Regions from separate parts of the Homo sapiens genome. Here region 2 is linked to region 1. Evidence: promoter capture Hi-C in 16 types of primary human blood cells and fetal thymus (Javierre and others, 2016). All regions are on one chromosome and are shown on one strand. Each heading gives the region's core, a stretch centred on a gene start or on the middle of the fragment in contact. The rest is flanking DNA. Distances are from core to core; before and after follow the strand shown. Region 1 holds the start of PRPS1 (phosphoribosyl pyrophosphate synthetase 1). Region 2 overlaps RBM41 (RNA binding motif protein 41).

What was found. Contacts are between HindIII fragments. The CHiCAGO score rates a contact against its expected background, and 5 or more counts as called.
Region 2: a contact is called between a fragment that was not itself captured here and the fragment with the promoter of PRPS1 in region 1, in 1 of 17 cell types (fetal thymus). The highest score is 7.4, in fetal thymus.

Annotation. Positions count from the first base shown.
Region 1 is chrX:107,625,612-107,629,907 of GRCh38, reverse strand. It overlaps PRPS1 (phosphoribosyl pyrophosphate synthetase 1), which reads right to left and starts at 1,398. Exons shown (of 7, transcript NM_002764.4): 1 at 1,158-1,398. The coding sequence starts at 1,279. RefSeq lists a silencer at 1,511-1,560. The HindIII fragment of the contact is 4,384 bases long and covers 929-4,296 here.
Region 2 is chrX:107,112,801-107,116,789 of GRCh38, reverse strand. It overlaps RBM41 (RNA binding motif protein 41), which reads left to right. Exons shown (of 8, transcript NM_001324242.2): 2 at 24-140; 3 at 736-928; 4 at 1,234-1,438; 5 at 3,322-3,393. Among named protein-coding and RNA genes, the nearest start is that of RBM41, 4.0 kb to the left of the region's middle. The HindIII fragment of the contact is 4,639 bases long and covers 1-3,569 here.

The sequences.
Region 1 (4,296 bases), core at 149-2,648:
TGAAAACTTTCCCCTTAACAAATCTGTAAGATTGTGGGCAGGGCTCTGATTTAATCGATAGGGTAACAATAAAATACAAATTACACCTATCAGAAACTAAAGATCCCACACTTAGGTGGAAGGGGCACTGAAATAATCAGGTAACCAAGTCATCTCTAAAACAGTCCCATGGTGCCGGTAGAGGGTGTAAGTCGGAGTCGAGGAAGCAAGTTTTACTGGCAAGGCAATGGAAAAAACGCAAGTTGCAATGCACTGTCCAATCCTAGTCTTCCACTACATTGCCTGTCCTCAATTATCTTTAACATTCAGGTATAAAATTGTTTCCTAAATTCCCTACACAGAGCTTAAAGAAGGAGCCAAGTCCAGGATGGACTCGGTTACTGAAAAATACGCTTTTGCATTATCTGTACCACTAGCTGCACTGGGGAAGGTCAAACATTCCAGAATTGAGATTTCCAAGATTTTTTGGATGGCTCAAGCTGAGATGCTGGCTATCAAGGATGCAGAGTCAACGCATCACTTTAACAAATCAACTAGATTTATGGCTCCAATTACTCAGGTAGATGATTCATAAGATGAGAAAAGCCAACGCTTGCTGATCTAAGGGAAGTCGTAATAATTTTGGCGCCTGCAGTATATAATGTCAGTTTCCCTCAACACCAAGCCGAACGGACCAACACCATTTCGAATCAAAAAGCTGCTTATTGGACTCTAGGAAAAGAAAGACCAGGAGAGCTCAGTACGCAGGTAGGCTCTCTAAATGCAAGCTAGTCTAAGAGCTGAAGCAACCCAGTCCAGCCTGGGTGGCTCAACAGCAAAGCCAAGCCACGTGTCCCTACCGCCCTGGCTAAGCGTCGGTCCCCTCTCGTCGCTCTATGCAGCCACTATCTATTGGGTCCCCCAGCCCTTGCCCTCAAACGCAGAAGCTTCGCCTCACACTCCATCTTTTGACTCCACCCCACCGCACGGTAAGAATGAACGTGACCCTCCCGCGAGAGGTAAAATAACGGAAACAGCCCGTGGGGTAGGCTAGTCACAGAGCTGCACCCTCTCCCCCCAACCCCCAGTCTGTTTGAGCTCAAGCGGCGACCCCATCCCTCCTATACTCTGCCGCCTGGGCAGGTGAGGTCTAGTCAGGGTCCCAACTTGGTCCTTACCAGGTCTCCTGGTTGCTGAATTTCTTAGTCACCACCTTGCCTAGCTCCAGGCCCAGGCGGTCAGCAATTTTCTGAGATAAGTCCTGGTGGGAGCTGCCGCTGAAGATTTTGATATTCGGCATCCTGGCCAACTACCCTAAGCACTCCACTAAGCGATCACGGCTGCTGCAGAGACCGGAACCGAAGTCGGCCACAGACTCAATACCAAGCGCTTTGCGTTGCTACTCCGCCATCTTACATTCCCGCCCGGCGCGCGGCTCTAAATTACCCAAAGCGGCGGAGGTGGGGTCAGCGGCGAAGTCCACACCCCGCTGGCAACGATTAGCTAAGAGGGAGCGAAGGGCGGGGTTTGGTCCTCGGTGTAGCTCTGCCTCCTTCCGATTCTCTCAGGTATTGGGTGAAGAGCATGAACGGGGGCGAGACTAACCCATAGCCCGGCCCCCTGTAGCTAGGCTGTTGGGGACAGGAGACGTTGGACTGGGGGTGGAGGGATGCTGGTGACGTCTGAGGCCAGATCGTTCCCGCTAGCGGGAAATCAACCATGCCTGCTTTTTTATTTCCCCTCCCTCAGCGCAGGAAAGTAAGTCTGGCTCTGGTTTACAGTTTCCTTTAAGAAAATCTGTTTATCAGGATGACAGCCACGAGTTTGCATGTTTCTGAACACATTTTTTATCTCTTTATAAGGATGGGGCTGAATTAAAACACTTTTACATCACAGACGTGCATGCAAGGAGTTTGCTTGCCCATTGTAATTGCAGTGTCGCCTTTGCCTGCAAGACAGTTTACATGGGGGAAGTGACTGAAGGCATGCCACCTGAATCATCCAAGAGACACTGCAAGAGAAAGTTGTTTTGTTTCTAGTGCTGGAACCAAGTATGTTGAAACAAGTGAAGGAAGATGGATTTTCCAAACTATCTGGACAATAAAGATCTAACTTTTATAGCCCTCGGAAAGGAAAGAAAGTATAGTGTTCTATGGGACTTCAGATAAAGAGCCCTGAAGGGATTTGAAAAAACCTGGGTTTTAGTCCTGTCTGCCTCATGTAAGCCTCAATGTCATCAGCTACATGTTGCTAATGTGGCCTTTTACACCATGTTTTATTATTTTTATAGCGATACTTGTTAATTGGACCTAAGTGAGCCTTTATTCTTGCACCATGTTTCCATTAAGCATATTTTAAGCATGGGTTAGGAGAAGATAAAAATCATACAATTCTGGAATCAAAAGTGACCATAGTGCTCATAACTACCAAATGTAAAAATAGAAGGGACCTCAGAGATCATATAGTCGTTTTACATATGATAAAACTGAGATGGAGGTGGGAGAGGGATTTATCTAAGTGGCAAAGGCAGAAAATACTCAAAGCAGCATCCTGTCTTTGTCTTACTGCTATTTTCAGCAGTGTCCATGGAGGACTTCTCCTTCTGACCTTTTTTGCACTTTTACAAGCTCAGAAATTTAATGTAGGCCCATGTATATAGGAATACTTGGAGAAGGAAGTAAACTGCAAGGCAGAATATTAGTAGTCTTCCATCATAGGCCATTCATCAAATATTTACTGAGTGTTCTATTGCATGCAAGGCAGTGTGCAAGGCGTTGAGGGGACTACAAAGTATTTGCCCCAAGGGATTCGTTCATTCAATAAATATTTAGTGAACATTCTTTATGTGCTAGGCCCTGTGTATTGGCACAAGAATACATTAGTAAACAATTAAAAATACCCTGCTGTCATGGAGTTTACATTCTCAAACAATAAACATGTAAATAAGCAAAATGCATAGTATGTCAAATGGCAATAAGTGTTGTGGAAAAAAAAATCAGGCAAGGAAAGTGGGATAATGTGCCAGAGTGTAGAGGAGAGGAGTACAATTTTAAGTAGGGTGGTCAGAGAAGACCTGTCTTGGAAGGTAACATTTGGGCAAAGACCTGAAGGAGGAAAAAAAAAACAAAAAAATGAGCCATGTTGATATCTCGATAAGCAAAGAGAACAGAAAGGGCAAATACCCTAAGGCAGATGTATCTCGCTTGTTTGAGGAATACCAATGCGGGACGAGTGTTGTGTGGTGGAGGTGGAATGTATCTATAAGAGAAAAGGAGGAAAGTGAGGTCAATGAGATAAGAGTGATTGGAGGCCGGCCAGGCACGGTAGCTCACGCCTGTAATCCCAGCACTCAGGGTGGCCGAGGTGGGCGGATCACTTGAGCTCAGGAGTTCAAGACCAGCCTGGGCAACGTGGCGAAACCTCGTCTCTACAAAAAATACAAAAATTAGCCAGGCGTGGTGGTGGGCACCTGTAGTCCCACTGAGGCAAGAGAATCACTTGAACTTGGGAGGCAGAGGTTGCAGCAGTGAGCGGAGATCGCACCACTGCACTCCAGCCTGGGCGACAGAGTGAGATTCTGTCTAAACAAAACAAAACAAAACAGTGATTGGGGGACTCAGGTGGGCACGATGGCTCATGTCTGTAATCCCAGTACTTTGGGAGGCCGAGGCGGGCGGATCACTCGAGCTCAGGATTTGCAGACCAGCCTGGGCAACATGGCAAAACCTTATCTCTACAAAAAATACAAAAATTAGCTGGGCATGGTGGCAAGCACCTGTAGTCCCAGCTTCTGGGGAGGCTGAAATGAGAGGATCACTTGAGCCTGGGAGGCAGAGATTGCAGTAAGCCGAGATCGCGCCACTGCCCTCCAGCCTGGGTGACAGAGAGAGACCCTGTCTCCAAAAAAAAAAAAAAAAAGGGATTGTGGGGAGAGTGCTGATCATGCAGAACCTTATAGGTTATTTTAGGGGTTTTTGCTTTAACTGAGTAAGAATTTTTAGCAAAGAGTGACATAATCTAACTTCCCTTTTAAAAAGATCACCCCAGCTACTGAGAACAGAGTGTAGGAGGCAAGATAGGAAGCAGGAAGACCGATTAGGAGTTAACTTCCAAAGAAAGTTGATAAGACATTTATACAAATAATTACAAAGCACAGACAATGTAATACGCTACCATAGAGAAGCCTGTGCTTGGATAATGTGGAGGCTGCTGTAACAAGGAGACTCTAAAATATAGCGGCTTTAGTAAGACAAATTATTTCTCTCTTGCATAACAGGCTGGCTGGTCTAAGCCAGTGGGATGATTCTGCTCCATGCT
Region 2 (3,989 bases), core at 1-2,500, 510 kb after region 1:
ATATATTCTTATGTCTACTCCAGGGTAAACAGCTGTGTGAAGAGTGATGAGCATGTCCTGGAGGAGCTGGAAACAGAAGGGGAGAGGCAGCTGAAAAGCCTCCTTCAGCATCAACTTGATACTTCTGTCTCCATTGAGGAGTAGGTATTGATTTTGCAAACGGAGAGTATCATAGACTCTTACCTCCAGGTGACAGATCTCTCTTAAAGCCTAGATGGAATGTTCCTCTCCCACCTCCCTTTCTTTGTTAGACTTCAATGTATTAGGTAGGGTTTTAATTCTGTGTCTCTTCCTCTGGGAAGCCTCCCATATCTCACTAAGTCTGAGCCAAGTACCTATTTTATGTCCTCCTACAGCATCCCATATTTCCCTTAACATAGCACTTGTAACCCAATATTATCATTGCCTGTTTACTTGCCTCTGTTCCACTGTTTTTCCACAAAAGCAGGAGCCATTTTTATCTTTTTTATAAAGCTATTAAATCCTTAGTACCTAGCAGAGTATCTGATGCATAGTAAGTACTCAATAAATATTTGTTGATTTAGTTTATTATTCCTGGATGACGGCACTCTCGATGGAGTTCCATTTTGTTGCAGTGGTGCTTCAGCTTAGAAATAAGATGTAAGAGAAAATTTGCTGGTGAGTTTCATTGTACCTCTTACAGTGCTGAACCTCCATTTTTGTGAATGATAGTAACCTCAAGATGTTCTTACTCTCCTCCTGCATGTTTTGCAGATGTATGTCTAAGAAAGAGAGCTTTGCTCCTGGTACTATGTACAAGCCCTTTGGGAAGGAAGCAGCTGGGACTATGACTTTGTCCCAATTCCAGACACTGCATGAGAAGGACCAGGAAACTGCTTCTCTCAGGGAATTAGGGCTTAATGAAACAGAAATCTTGATCTGGAAGAGCCATGTTTCTGGTGAAAAGGTGAGTGGGGTAATGTTTTTTTTTGTTGGTTTTTCTCCTCAAAGAAACAGAGCAAAATATCTTCATTTTAGCACTGAGAGCCTTTTCATTTCTAGTTCTCACAAAACTGAGCTTGGTGTCTGAATCTTCTTTGATTTTTAGAATGCAGACATTGGTAAAAGAGAAGCTGTTCTTTAACTTCTTAGCTAACACTTTCTGTAAACATTCATTTCTGGGCCTAGGTCATCTTTTTACTTGAGATACCAGATCATCATGTTCAGGTTGTGCCCTCTATGATACATGCCATCTCATTCCTCTGGTTTCAGAAGACAAAACTGAGGGCAACTCCTGAAGCAATACAGAACCGTCTTCAAGATATTGAAGAAAGGATCTCGGAGCGTCAGCGCATTCTTTGCCTGCCACAGAGATTTGCAAAGAGCAAACAGCTGACCCGGCGAGAAATGGAAATAGAAAAGTCTTTATTTCAGGGAGCTGATCGTCACTCCTTCCTTAAGGCTCTTTATTACCAAGGTATGTGATCCCCACTGACTTTGATATATTCTTTCACTGAGAGAAAGATTAAACAGCAGGGCATTAAATATGAAGAGTTAGTGAAGGGAATAGGGGAAAGACAAATTGTCACTACTTTTGAGAAATGTATAATACCATAAGAGAGACAAATATGTGCACAGTTAGTTGCATGACAACATGGAAACTGCTATTATAGAGATTTGAATAAAATGCTGAGGTAGTGCAGAACACAGAGCATCTAAGTCTAGTTGGGGGAGTCAGAAGTTGACATTTATACTAACTCCTGATGGATCAATGGGCATTTGTCAGGTAAATAAAGGGGAATGGAGATTAAAGGTAGTAAATAGCAACAGGATTATGAAAGAACCTGGTGTGTCTAAGGAACAATGAGAAGTTTAACGTGGCAGGAGTAGAAGAAGTGGCAGGGAATGACAGGAGGTGACACTGGAAGGAAGGGGAGGCGAAGCTAGATTGTGAAGGGTCTTTAGGCTGAACTACAAATTAGCACAAAATATATAGATAAATAGTATGTGTCTTAACCAGAAGGATTTAGTTTGACAGATAAGTTTTACTAGACGCTGTGGAAGGTGCATGGAAGTTTAAGAAATGGTTCCTCACCTTGTGCCAAGTATAGTCTGGTTGGAGAGATAAACATGTAACATTTAGTGACAATACTAGATACATTTGTTAAGTGTTGTTGGAGTTCAGAGGAGGCAAAGGCCACTGTGTATTGGTGTGATTGAAGAAGCCCTCTCAGAGGAGGTAAGATTTAAATGTTCTTTTAATACTACCTATTCTTTAGAAAAGAGAGGTAATGACATTTCAGTTGCAACAGATGGTGTGAGCACTAGGGAGTGTGCTAACTATGGAGGAGATGTGAGACAAGGTTAGAAAGGTAGCTAAAAATTTTGAACTGTATTTGGTAACTAGTATAGACTTATACAGAGTTAGTTATCAGTTAGTTTCAATATGGTTGAAGGTTTTTGAACCAGAAGTGACATGATAAAAGCCATATTTGAAAATTATTAATCTGGTGGTCAATAAATAGGATTAGAGAGAGGAAGAACTGGAAGCAGGCAGAATGGATAGGAGATATTACAGTCATTTAGGCATGAAGACTTGGTCTAGAGTGATAGCAGTGAAATTGGAGAGAGGTAGGTTTATAATGGAAGAACTAATAAAACTCGTTGACTGAAAATGAAGGAGGGAGGTCAATGCAGAGGTATGTGTCAAAGATAATCCAGAGGTTTCAAGGCTGTGTGACTTACCAATTGGCAAAATTAAGAAAGCCTTTATGGGGAAATTTCGAGGAAGGATGATGAGTTTGATTTTAAACATGTGGAATTTGTGAGAATGGCAGGATCATCAAATGCAGATGTTGAGGAGACAGTTGGAAATGCAGCCGTGAAGCTCAGGAGAGAGGTCAGAACTAGATATATAGAACTGGGAATCATCTATCCTTAGATAACATGTTAAGGCCGTGAGAATGGATGAATGATTTGTTAGAGATAGAAGGATCATAGACATGGCAGAGCAGTGGTGAAGGAAGGAATGAATGAACAAATGAATAACCTTTTGTGGAGAGACATTTAGCATAATGATTAAGAACATGGGCTCTGGAGGCAGACTGCCTGGGAAAATCCTGGCTCCCCCACTTAACTAGCTATGAGATGCTAGGCAAGTTACCTCTCTATGCTTCAGTATCTTCATCTGTAAAATGAGAATATTAATAGTAGCTATGTTACAGGGTTACTAAGAGGATTAAGTGAGAGAATACATGTAAATCACTTAAAGCAGTACCTGGTATTTGGGGTGGAGGGTGGGTGGTTTATGAATCTGTTCTGTTTCCTATCTTTGAAACTCCTTGCTTTAAACCTTCACAGCATACCACAAAAAGACAAGTGCAGACAAGTACATGACCTCAATGAAGAGGAAGATAAAATTAGGCACAAAAGGCAAGTCGAGAGTTTTCTTATAGTGTTAGACTTAGGAATGTAACCTAGGGTCCCAGTTGAGCACTTATTTAATTCCATATTCAGTATATGACAATGTTTATAGGAAATGATCCAGAGGGAGCATATTATCCTGATACAGAATATTAAAGAGAGGAGTTAGTAGAAGTTGTAAAGCTTTTACATTTACTGCTGTTGTTTTTTCTCTATACATTTAAATTATTGTACCAGACATAAATTGACCTTAATGATTTTTAGATCCCATTTCACAAATAATTCTGAATATTTTTATTAGTCAGTAAAGTATAATTATTGATGATGATGATGATATGATAGCTAATATTTTCTTACTTTTGAAATGAACTTCCAATAAAATTGCATGGGGCTTCTTCTTTTTTGGTGTACAATTCTATGAATTGTAAATCATGTAGATTCATGTAACCACCACCACAATCAAGAAAGAGAATAGCTTCATCACCTTAAAAAACTCCCTCATGCTGTCCCTTTATAGTCATTCCCAACCCACCATAATTCCTGACAATCACTGACTGTTTTCCATCACTGTAGTTTTATCTTTTAGAAAATGTCATGTAAATGGA